Regions from separate parts of the Homo sapiens genome. Here region 1 is linked to region 2. The links are contacts of gene promoters, found by promoter capture Hi-C in human tissues and cell types (Jung and others, 2019). All regions are on one chromosome and are shown on one strand. The core of a region is centred on a gene start or on the middle of the fragment in contact, and the rest is flanking DNA. Distances in the headings are between cores, read along the strand shown.

Evidence for each region. The method cuts DNA at HindIII sites, captures the fragments that hold promoters and counts their contacts. A contact is called where the count stands out against the background at its distance.
Region 1: a fragment that was not itself captured here is called in contact with the fragment with the promoter of AGBL4 in region 2 in 2 of the 25 tissues and cell types used here (dorsolateral prefrontal cortex and hippocampus).

The regions. Positions count from the first base shown.
Region 1 is chr1:50,106,953-50,113,368 of GRCh38, reverse strand. ELAVL4 (ELAV like RNA binding protein 4) reads right to left here and starts at 4,449. Exons shown (of 7, transcript NM_001144774.3): 1 at 4,171-4,449. The coding sequence starts at 4,179. RefSeq lists an enhancer at 2,226-2,406. The HindIII fragment of the contact is 4,459 bases long and covers 2,076-6,416 here.
Region 2 is chr1:50,019,365-50,025,882 of GRCh38, reverse strand. AGBL4 (AGBL carboxypeptidase 4) reads left to right here and starts at 1,929. Exons shown (of 14, transcript NM_032785.4): 1 at 1,929-2,120. The coding sequence starts at 2,087. LOC105378708 (a long non-coding RNA gene) reads right to left here and starts at 1,862. Exons shown (of 3, transcript XR_947311.3): 1 at 1,761-1,862. The HindIII fragment of the contact is 7,609 bases long and covers 1-5,721 here.

The DNA of each region.
Region 1 (6,416 bases), core at 3,056-5,555, 85 kb before region 2:
ATTAAAATAAGGTGTTAAGATGCTCAGGGCTAAATGAAGCAGCATATCTCCTCATGGAAGAAATAGTATTTGGCCTACATATAGGAAAAGAACCCACCTATAATAAGGAAATAAGTGTAAAGGGAAGAAATCAAACCAAAAAAAAAAAGACTTACTCTGAGGAAATCCCATTGTTGTTCACAGTAACTCTAACTTGAGAAAAACATCTCAATTCATCCACAAGTCCTTTTAGAGATATTGAACACACACATACAAAGCACCATTCAAACAATAATTTCTAGATGTGAAATTTCAAATAGCTTATACCTAATAGAAATCCTAAGTTTAAAATATCTGAAGTCCAAAGTGTCCCAAATCCAATTTCAAGACTAAGTTTAGAACTAAAAGGCAAATGCGCAGTTCATTTTCTTTCTCTCTCTCTCTTTCTAAATATTCTATTGTTATTATCTCACAACAATCTGGCCTTCCTCTCATAACAACACCCTAATTTTCAAAGGACCAAGGAAGGAGTATTGGGAGAGAAAAAGTTTTAAGGTTTTGTGCAAACCATCAAACAGAAGCAAGGCCATCTACATCTGGCCAGGAGAATGACTTGAATGAATGGCAGGTAAAAATGAATGGGACTGAGATCACAAATGAATGGTTAAGTTGTTTGTTAGCTTTTTAAAAAATGAGATATTAAATTGTCTTGTAAATCAACAATTCTCAAAGTAATTTTTCAGCTACTTCCTCATCTATGTTAATTTTACCCTTTCAAAAATTTAAATATTAAATGATTTAGCTGTTATGTTACTATGAGATATATGGACATTCTGATCATTAAAACTGCTACTTAGTCAGATGTTTTTTGCAGAAATATTTCCAATTGGATTTTCACTTCTTAATAAATGCACATTCAGCCTTGTGCTTCCATAAGAGCACAACTCCACATGAAGGTAGTAGGCATTAATATTTTTAAGACAAAGGATCGAGAAAGGTCAGCATCAGAACCACGTGTCTTTTTTACAACCCAAGCCAAGATGACACTTCTTACAGAAATTATTTTCCCCTAACTAAAAATTGCCAGAAAATTCTCAGAAAATAAAAAAAGAAACTATATTGGAGACTTAAAAAAATTCTATTTTTTTAAAGGTGACACAGGCTTATGCACTCAACATATGGCCGCAAGTTTCAAGTGTATGACAAAAAATACAAGTTTATTTATTTTTACCTCAAGAGTGAAAATAAAATTTTTAAATCCCCTAATAAGAAGAGAAAACAAAAAGACGCATCTGCAAGGAAAAAAGAATTGGGGGGATTTGCAATGAAGAGAGCAAAAATTAAGTGTACTTTCAATAAAGCCAATTATATTTCCTAATCTTTTAGTGTATTTCAGCATTTTTAAATCTCTCATTTTTGGGCTTACAATTAGCTCCCTGATCATGCATCTATTTTGTCCTTTAGTAAAAAACCCTAACAGATCACCATTTCAATTGTTTTTACGCTATCTCCTGTTCACCCAAATACTACACCTTTCAATCCTTATGGTACCCACCATCATGAGAAAAAGAGACTATTAGTAAAGCACATTTAGAGAAAAAAGAGAGATGCTTGTCACCCAGTGCACACATGGGTCCCAGACGTCCAAAGACACTAATATAAAAATCAGCTTTTCACTCAGTTTGTGCCAAGACCAGAATCAGGACCAAATGCCAAATGGAAGGCAGTGGTTATGAGAGTGCAAGCCTGATGGATCCTGTGACTGTGGGCATGGGGAAAGAAGGAAAGCAAAAAGCTCTTCATTTATTATTTTGTAAAGTAATTTCTACTGAGGAAAAAAATGAGAGGTACAATGAATTCCCCTGAAACTATAGTATCAACATCCGATTTAGTAAAAATACCAAAATCACCTAACCCCAAATCATTGCTTAGGGTAGATCTATTCTACCTATATTTTTCCTATGAATATTTGCTGGAAATTTCTAAGAAATCATTTGCAGAACCTATCAGCTGTGGGAGTTCACTATTATGCTTCCGTCAACTTCATTCAATATAATTTACATTTTTTCAAATGGTCTCACAGGATTCCTTGCGATTTTTCGCATGTACAATTTCACACCAGGGAAAAGGGGGAAAAAGGAAAAAAAAAAAAGCAAGATTCCCTACCCTCCCTTCCCCCTCACCTCCTCTCTGGGTTTTTTAAACAACAACAACAACAACAAAAACCACACGCGCACACACACACGCACACACACACAAAAACAGGGGAGACAGAACAGATGCTTAAAAATAGATTTCTAAAAATCACTGTAAACCAGAGTTAGAAATGTAATTAACACCTATTAATAACGAATAATTAAAGTTGGGCTGGCCACAAAGAACAGCAAAGATAATCGAGGTCCTGTCCCCCTCCCCTTTTTTTTTACACTGTTTGCAGTGTGTTCTCATGATAGCCACCTGCTCCCTACTCGGCTTCTCCTCTGTTCGTTTCCCCGGCAACCTTTCATTGGGTTTTCCTCCCAGCTATCGCTTTCAGTTGGGCTGCTCGGTCTAATCTTATTTGTTTTACACCCATCAAAACAAGCAGCCAGACAAAGGCAATCCTCTAAGAATGGGAAAAAGACCACAGCTTTGTTATAACATCTATGCAGAGCAAAAAGTCCTCCCCAGGCTTTTCTAGGGAAAAATAAGTAAGATGGTTATGAATTTACAGCCTGCCCCCATACCCAGCTCTGAAACCTTGTGAAACCTATTGCTGGTGAAAATTCAAAGTCAAAGTGGGCACTCGTGGCATCTAATCATGCCATTTTGTGCCATATCTTCAGGGTCAACATCAGGCGACAGAAGCGGCACTCAAGGAGTTTCCCTGCTTCTTTTTTCAGAAAAAGATGATGCTAAAAATAGATTTACTACTTCGGCAGAAAGGTTTTCCACTTCCCCTTCCACATCCGAAAGTCCTGTTTCACAATTGCATCGGCTGGTACTGAATCTCACCTCCTCCACCCCTCATTCCCATCCTTCCCCATCACTCCTAGCATGAGACTGAAAAAGAAATGTGCCTTTAACTTTAGCAGTCGTGTAATTCCGTTGAAGGCTCACAGAGGCGGTGGACACGCCAGCCAACAGTGACGGTGACATTGATTGTCAAAAAAGACACCAACCTTCCTTGGCTAAAATGTGTGTTTGCTGGAAGAGGCAGTGTGTGTGCCTTGTGTGCATGCAGTGCCATTACACTTGGAGATGGATTCTGGTTTTCAGAAAAGAGAAATACTAATAAACACACACATACATACACACACAAACGATCAGCACAGTGATTTACGATGCACAGTCCAGCATCCTTACACATACACACATACAAGCACACACACACACACACACACACAGGGCTGGGACCTCCAGGCTGCCTTCCTCTTTTCACTTACCATCTTCAAGCCATTCCACTCCATCTGTGATCAGAAGAAGATGGACCCTCACACAGTGTGTCAAAAGCGGAAAGGAACGTTATGTAAAAGCTGACATTCCTTCTTACAGAGCTGCTGCCCAGAGAAGGAAGCAACAACTCAACACGCCAGGCACTGCTACACATACAAGCCGCCTCCTCTTTTTTATGAGGTCATGACAGGAAACTCTTTGAAATACAAGATGCAGCATTTACTGAAGCCCAAATAAATCACTCTCTTTGCCGTTTTGACTGCGCAGTCCCCCGAAACACAACTGCCCATCTCAGTGTTCAGTATCCAGGAGCTGCCTCTCGAGGTTTAAATTTCCAGCACGGAAATTGAGAGATTCCTAACCCCGCTGCATCCACCCCCAGCCCCACAAAACCCAGGCACGTAGACAAACCCCCTCTCCCTTACAAAAAAGAAAACCCTTCTTTTGCCATTATGTCTCAAGTAATATAACCTCTTTCAATAAACCAGCAATTATTTCAGCCCTCCCCCTCCACCCCTTGCCTTTATGTTGAAGGGAAAACTGACAACGACTTGCTAAAAATGACAATCTTATATCCCCATTGCTTTTCAATAAAAGGACCTACCCGCACTCTCTACACAAAAGAGATAGTAAATGTAGGAACCAAACAGCAGCACAGAACTAAACTCTTGTGCAAGCATAAGACTGGTCAAGGTGTAGATGCTTTTCTTCCCTCCAGCAACACAAACAACAGATTATAAATCTAGTCATACCTACCATAACCATTCTTATTGGCAAATATTGGGTCTCGCAGAGCTTCGACTCTTCTGTTAAAATTTGCAAAGATTTCAGAATATATATTTAAAATGACTACTATTGTTATATATAATTAAAGATCCACAAAACACAGTGTGGATGATTGTAAAGCAAATCAATTATTTTTGGGGGGGTGGGCGGGGGAGAGAAAGAAAAAAAAGAAAAGGAGCAGTGAGCTGAAACCCCCGATTCTAGGATGTAGATAAGAACAACTGAACAGAGCCTTGCTGAAATTGGCTCGAAGCTTCCCCTTTTTACATCCATTTATGGGACCATCTGTCAGCCGAAGCCTGGATCTGATTGGCTGGGGAAACGAAGGGAGGCGTTGCAACATCAGGTGCTATTTAAATTAGCTACTGCCAGATTGACGATGTTAATGATTTGGTGACCTCTACAACAACAGAGACCAGATTTCTGAACTGCTTCTTGTGTCTGGTAATTAAGGCCCGGCTGAAGCAACAACAGCCATACTTGTATTTTTACCTTTTCCCTCCTCCCAGCTCAAAAGTACTGTAACAACTGCAGGTCACTGGAGGCTTGCAAACCTAAACTAACAGTGGGAGGGTCCTTCTTTTCCCATCCTGAGGGCCGAACCGTGCCACCTCTCTGATGGAGGGCTTTTCCACCGTAGAATATTTTCAACCACCTTATCTTTCTAGACAGTTGCTTTCTAGCGAAATGCATATTTAATGATCTGCCTGTAGGCTTAAAGGTACAACAAAAGCACTTTAATGTGCTAATTCATCTACAATTTAACTTTATTATTTCCAGATATTGCTGATTTTTAGTAAGTAATGCTCCTTCTCCAGCTAACATGGCCAACATTTCAAAAGCAAGCAAGTTGGGGATTAAGCTTGCTCCGTGAACTAGGTTCATACAAGTTTGTCTCAGAAAACTATTTCCTAATAAACAAAAAGAAAAAAAATGGTGGGGGTAAGGGAGGGGCAGCTGTCAGCCTCTACCTTTCTGCCTTCTGTCTGAGCTTTTCAAAACTGAGGATGATGAATGATTTACTTAAATGAATTTATTTTTCAAGTTGGATAGGAACATGATCTGAATTTTTAAAAATCCACTAAAACACATTCTCCTACCCCTTTAGAGAAAGGTAAAACATGCTTTTGACAACAGCCTCATTTCAAAACCTGTGCAGAGTGTTCATTTTGCTTAACTAAATAAGTGATTTTGCTTCTCTCCTTCAAAGGGATGTCTTTTTTTCTTTGGCCTCTTAAGAGATTTGCAAAGAGACATTTAGCAAGTGTATGGTGAGGTATACAGTTTGTCTGCCTATTTACACATTTAACAACCTCTACACTACCAAGCCTTCAGTAGTGTATTTTTTGTTCTGGTTTGGGTTTTTTAAGTGGCTTACCTGAGAAGTTCATGCTTCACACCTATGCAAAAGACTAATGTGTCACTATTTATTTAACTCATAATTTAATCAATTTGTTCTTCAATAAATACACAGTGGTAACACATATTACCAAATACAAAATTCAATGTAATCTTTAATCTTTGACTAGAGTTGACAGTGAGACAGAACTAGGCAGAGTAGACATACAGACCAAAAAATAAGCTATATTTCTGGGTTTCAAAGTCCAAGAATAAATGGGTTTGTGAAAAATTATTAGGAAAGAAAATAACCTTACATTTTTCAAGATTAAAACTATTCTGTCCAAGATGCTGTTTCATGAACACACACATATAAACATACATATATATTCACACTTCAGAAAATACAGATACATCATAAAACAATATGTGTTGGGTACACTGCATAATCCATTAGACTTGAGTATGAATACGTTCAGCTATTAGAAATGAAAATACATGAAATAGAAAAGTACAAATGTTAAAACTATAATTCCTTAAGGTGGAACAATACTCAGTTAAGTAAACTTTTAAAGTAATTTCTTTAGCAAATGTATAAAATGTCCTGTGAGTCACAATAGTACTACAGTATCTGTTGAACTGTGTACTGAGGGTGAATTCACAGGTTAAAGTGTTCTAAATGGTTCAGCATATATACACAGAGTAGGTATGTGTGCCCCAAATCAACAACATAAACTCTGAGTGCAATTTCACCAATATTAAAATATTGTGAAAAGTAAACATTAAGACAATGCTGACAAACACAAATAAAAACAGCTCACTTGGAACAAAATATTTACTTAGATTTCTCTGGAGGTTATAAAAGATAAAAATTTTAA
Region 2 (6,518 bases), core at 680-3,179:
AAGTCTATACTCCCTCCTGCACTGCTTCCTGAGGAATAGCTGACACAGAGGAGAACCGAACCTGGTCCTGTCAGCAAGCTGGTTTTCCAGGCTTTTCGTCTCCTCTGCCCAGTAAGGCATTTGTCTATCAATTCTGACTAACAAAACTTTCTGCAGTGATGGAAATGTTCTATACATATGTTGTCCAATATGGTAGCCAGTAGCCACATGTAGCTATTGAGCACTTGAAAAGTGGCAATTCTGATTAAATAACTGAGTTCTAAATTTTACTTAAAATTTAAATTGACCAATGTGGTTCAATTTAATAATGTTATATTTGTCTCTTTATCCTCAGCATCTGCACAGAGCCTGGCTCATACTCATCAAATGCATTTTCATTCATCACCCTATTTGTGTCTTAGAGCTACTCTTTGTGGTAGGCAGGACCTTTGTCTCAGTTTGTTGGAAGAGGAAACTGAGGCTCAGTAAGTTTAAGTGATTTGCCCAAGATTATAAAGCTATAACATCAGTCTGAGTAGAACCCACATCTTTCTCTTTATTTTTCCATCTCCCTATACTTAATGTAGTTCTTTTGTTCTTCTTAGCCCTTATTGACTCCTCCGACACCGAAATTCCCAAAACCCTCACAGCCTTTACATAAGTGTCATTAGGACTGTGGAAAGCACATATATATTCATCTTGATAGTTGTGTGGACATGGCTTGTGAATTTTAAACTGTTCAAATGTGAGAGATAATTCTGATAGCTATTTTCATGTAACTTTCTGTACAAGATTCTTATCCCTGATTTTAATGCAGATGAATGGACAGTTCCATGCATGTGGCCAGCATCTTACTTAGAAGGCCTTCCGGTCCGTCTCTGCATTTCTGCCTCAAGGCTTTCTCTCAAACTCTAGAAGTCTGCTCAGCCCTGGCAAGCATAACCAGGAAATGTGAGAGAGTTCAAGCTGGAAGGTGGAGAGCAACCCTCAACCAATGGAGACAGAAATTAGGAGACAAATGCCCCAGACTCTGTGTTCTTCAGTGGGACAACGGCAGGCACACATTCTACCCTGTTTTTCAGAGTCTGAAGCAAGATTAAAAATAGTTGTCTACTAAAGCAATCAGCTCAATAACACATTTTTCTTAGCGTTTTTCCCCCTTCCCTCTTTCACTCTCTCCACCTCATTTCCTTTCAGATTACCACCATTTTCCATTCAGCAGACATTGACTGAGATCCTACTTTGTGTCATGCACCACGCTGCACTATGGAGTATACAAAGATAAGAGAACAACCGTAGGTATCAGAGAGCTCATGGTCGAGAAGGAAATAATGCATAAAGCATTTGGAATAGAGGGAATATACAGGGGACTGCGGGAGGGCAGAGCTGGTCAGGACGGGTAATGTTCCAGCTTGGTTTTAGACGATAACGGCGTGTCACTACTGAAAGGTGGGAAACAGCAGCCCATATTTACTGAAAAATACGTCAGCAAAAGGATAAGTCTTTTCTGGGGTTGAGGGTTGCTGTCGCAGAGGGGCAAGGAGCCAGAACCCTTTGGGCCTCTGTGTGTTTGGGTTGGGGTGGGCACACAGTTGGTTTTCAGTGCATTTCAGTTGAAGACGAGTAACCCAGGCAAACCAAGGGGAGAAGCTTTGGGAAATCAAGAAACCTGTCCCAAGTCCCCAAAGTTGAGCACCAACCACAGAAAAGCCAGTTTAGCTAGTCTGGGCGGTCAGTACGAGGACCCCGGTCGCCGTCAGGAAAGCGCCATCCCTACAGACCTGGCCCCTGTGCTCTAGGGGTGGCGGAGCCTGCTCAGTTGCCAGGATGCGGTGGATCGGTTGCGGAGGAGCAGCGCCCCGGGGCCCAAGTCCCAGCTCAGGCCCGGGCTCGCGCCGCGGGGGCGGGGCCTTGGACGCACGCTCCTCCCAGGCGTCCCTCCCGCCCTCAGCCGCGCGCCGGCCACCCGCGCGCCTGCCGCCCGTTGCCCAGGCAACCGTCGTGCCGCGTCTTCCTGAGGTAGCTCCTGTCAGCCCACTGATCCCACCACCCGCTCCCTACTGCCCCGCGGTCTTCGCGTGAGCTCGGAGACTGAGGGACAACAAAAATGGCGGAGGGGAGCCAGTCGGCGCCTGAGGCAGGTCTGTGGGGGCGGCCGATCTGGGGAAGGCTGAGGCGGCCAGGCTGTCCTGGGTCTCAGGCAACAGGGGACTCGGGCATGGTCCTACTCCTGAGGAGGCGGTCCTGTATATTTGCGCGGTGGGTTATGACTTCAGGGTCAGGGGTCAAGGGTGGCGTGCACCCCTCTGAATGGCGGGCAGGGACCTCGAAGTCCGGGTGGTGGAGGGGAGTGTGGGTTAGTGTGCACACTTCTGACAGAACATGGGCCCGAAAGGGGCTGGGACCTGAGGGAAGAGACAGGATCTTAATCCTGGGATCACCTGTGGTGAAGGCTAATCCTAGGGCTAGGCTGTGTCATGGAAAGGGTGTACACTGCCCTGTGGGAGCATGGGAGAGATCCCTAAAGGGGCATGATTTGGGCTCGGGGTGGGAGTAGGAGGCTCTGACTCTAAAGAGGGAGGTATACGTGGAAGGTGTGTTACTTTAATATCAGACAGTGCCATGGAAGGGGGAGTTAGAGTATTTGTGTTTGGGGATGTGCAGTGTCCTCAGGGTCACTCCTGGTCACAGAGAAATTTATGCAAATAATTCTTGTATGGGTCCTTAAAAAGACAAGAGGCCTTGAGGGGATACCCGGAGCCCCAGTCCTTTAGGAGCCTACCAAAGGAGGCTGGAGCGTGAGTGTGAGTGTGTGTGGGTTCAATGATCTTGAAGGTCATTCAGAATCAAAGGAGTGCATGTCCACACTTCTGTGGGTAGAAGATAGCCTTTAAGGGACAGGAAGACTGACAGGAAGGGAGACCCAGGATCCTATTCCTGAGGGGACCCCTTGTGCATATGGCTGGGATTTGTGAGATACTGACTTTAAGTTTCTCACAGGGTCATAGAAGAAAGCAAAGGTTTTTACAGTTTTGAGTATGTGGGAGGGAGTTTGCCTCTAAATGAGGCTGACCACTGAAGAACTGGATGTTACGGGATGGCATGGGTGTGTGGGTAGAAAAGAAGTGGCTTTGGGAATATGTGTGTGATGGGTGTTGGCAGTGGTATACATAACCTTGTATATATGTCCTGATCAGGTATTATCATTACAAGAGTGATCCACTTGAATTACTTTGGTCCTGGTGTGTGTGTGTGTGTGTGTGTGTGTGTGTGTGTGTGTGTGTGTGTGGTTATGGTACATACACACCACACCCCAGAAACTGGAACTGAAAACTATGACACCCTCAGAAATAAGTTCGAGGAACCATTATGTCTCAAGGCCTTCATTATTTCTCTTTCTTTCATGGCACCTCTGTTTTATTGAGTAGCTCCTCTACTCATTTTATAGTTTTAGCTCCCTCATAACTTGAACAGGCTTATTCCTTTATTCATTCATCCACTCAACAAATATCGAGTGCTAACTATATGCCTGGCAATAAGTTAGGCATTGGAAATTCCCTGCTTTGGATGAGCTTACCTTGTTCTTCTTTTCCTTTTTTTCTCATAGCATTTATTGCCTTTGAACATACTATTTAATTTACTTGCTTGTATTGCTTATTTCCTGTCTCCTTCCACTACAATGTAAGCTCTACAAGGGCATTGTTTTATCAATACCACATGTCTAGAACTTTTCTAAGTGTATAGTATGTTCTCAATAAAGATTTCTTAAATGAATAACTGAATTACTGATATTGTCTGGAAGTGATATTTTAGCTGACATATGATAGGGATTGGATAATTGAAAAAAAGGGCAAAGAGTGGTCGAGGCAGCAGGAAAACCATGTGCAAAGAACCCAAGCAGGTGGAAACATGTTATGCTGTGTTTGAGGAACTGAAAGGAGACAAGTGTGGGTACATGTGGGGCAATGGGAAGAGAGAAGAGGTACGCTGAAGCCAGATCTTCCAGTACTTTGTAGAATATGATATGAATTTGGGTCAGAAATCCTAAGAATAATGGGAAGCCATTGAAGGCTTTTAAGTGGGAGCATGCCATGATTAGAATAATTAAAAAATAACTCTGGCTACAATGTGGAGAGTACAGAGGATACAAGAGTGGATATAGGATATACTCTCCACCAGCTACATTGAGGAGAGTACAGAGGATACAAGAATGCATATAGAGAGACCTTAGAAGGTAGCAGTGGAGATGAAGAGAAGGAATTGAGAAATACTTAGGAGATAAAATTAATAGGACTTAGTGAAATATGAGGATGATGGAGAAGGAAGTATCGAAGACTACTTCTCATTTTCTAATTTGTTCAACTGGATAGTTAGTGGTGCCATTATTGGGATAGGGAGCATTGGAAGGGGCCTTGGGTAGGTGTGAGAGGAAAGATCATTAATTTGGTTTTAGATAAGTGGAGATTGAGGTATCTTTAGGACATCCAGATAAGCAGAGAGATTGACAAGGCAGTTGAATTTACAAGAAAAGTGTAAACTGGCATAGAGATAATTATTTTGACATAGAAATAATTACTCAAGCCATGGGTGTGGATGAAATTGCCTAGAGGGAGAAGAGGCCTGGGATGAAGTGTTGAGTAGCTGCAATATTTCAATGCCTTCCAAAGAGACTGAGAAGGTGCGACTGGAGAGATTAGAGCACAGCTAAAGGAATGTTTCAAGATAAATGGAATACTCAGTAGACTGAATGCTGCCAAACAATATAAAATGAAGGGCTAAAAAACTAGATTTAGCAACAGAGAGGTCATTGGTAACATTGATGGTAGAAAATTGATGATGGTAAAAAGCCAGGTCATTTAGGCAAATAATGCCTCAGTCTTTGTTTAATTCAAATTTCTGAGAGAGATAATTTTATTGACCCTTATTGTCTTTTACCACTAAATCACAGTCCAGTGTCAGGATTGACTGGTTTTAGATTAGGTGTCCAGCTATTGCTGGCTGGAGTCACCTGATACAAAATATGGCCATCTGGTAATTTCTTAATCTCACTTGAAATAGCCAACATTTATGAAGTGTTTATTTTGTACCACGCATTGTACTAAGTGCTTTATACATTTTACTTCAGTCTCATAACAACTCTTTAAGGTATTCTCTATGTTTTATATGTGGAGAAGTTTTGGCACGGAGAAGTTGACAACTTAATTAAGATCTGCAAAGAATTAGTAGAAGATTAGTTTTTTTGACAATTTAAATGTTACCCAGATTCATTATTTGGCTTTGTGTTTGTATTACAACATACTACGTTCTGAAGAAATCATAGCCATGATGAAAATCCCTGCCTTACAGGAAATATTCTAAACTAAGCATATTCTAACAAGGTGAAATGGAAAGAAATGGGCTCAGATCCTTGTGTAAACCCTACTTTTGTGACTGTGACTTATTATATGTGGACCTTGGACTCAAGTTTTATGATCTTCAGTTTCCTCATTTGTAAAATGGGGATGATATTTGCAGGATAGCTGTGAATATTAGAGATCATATACTTGAAGTGTCCAATAAATGTTATGTCCGTAGTTCACTTGAAGCTTGAATATAAAAAATTTCAAATGTATTGCATATACTTTACATATAAAAGAAATTATATAAACATACAATGATGAGTATAAGAAATTCTGTTTTTTCTTCATTGGTTTTTCACTGCTTTGCTGTCAGAAGAAAGGCAGACATTAAGTTTTGGAGAATGTAGAATTGTTACCTGAACTGTGTATCATGGGACCGGTCTCTGTGTGAGGTAGATTTTGAGGAATTTCTTGGAGGAATAAGGGACACTTAAGATATCTTAAGCATGCTTTTATATGTAAAGTATATGCAATACATTAGAAATTTTTTATATTCAAGCTTCTTACAGAGCATGTAGATAGCTCTGTAAGAGGGTCAGATTTATAAAAGGAAGTTTCTTCTTTTAAATCTTGTGCTTTAAAATGGGGACACAAATGTCAGGACTTTTTCCCTATAAATTTGATTATCAATACTAATAAAAAAGAAAACCTTACAGTTAATTACATGTAGGAGTATTAGTCTCATGCTAGATTGCACCTGCTTCTTTTTCTTAGCTTCTTCTCCCTCTCTTCCAGCTATCTTAAAAAAGCTTTTATTTTAGTTACCCGGTAAAATAATTTGTTTTTCTATTTTGTCAAGTTATTCTGTGGAAGCCCATGTAGGCAAACATTTTTTTAAATGATGCAGTCTGTTAAAATGGACCGTACCTTTATCACTCTCTGTGAAATAAATGGGTCTATTTTAAAAAGCAGGTTTATATGAATCAGAAACCAATTATGGGCAGAATGTTGAAATTGTAAAACGCCTTAGAAATGAGAATATTGTTTGATAGCTTGTGTTAGTGGTTGGACAAAGTAATAGTTAAGCCTTTTTTGTTTTAGTACCTGTATTTAACTGGGGATAATAACAGCTACTTTTAAGGTGAAAATTAGAGATAAGTTATGGAAAGTATACAATGTCTTACACCCCCAGAGAAATGA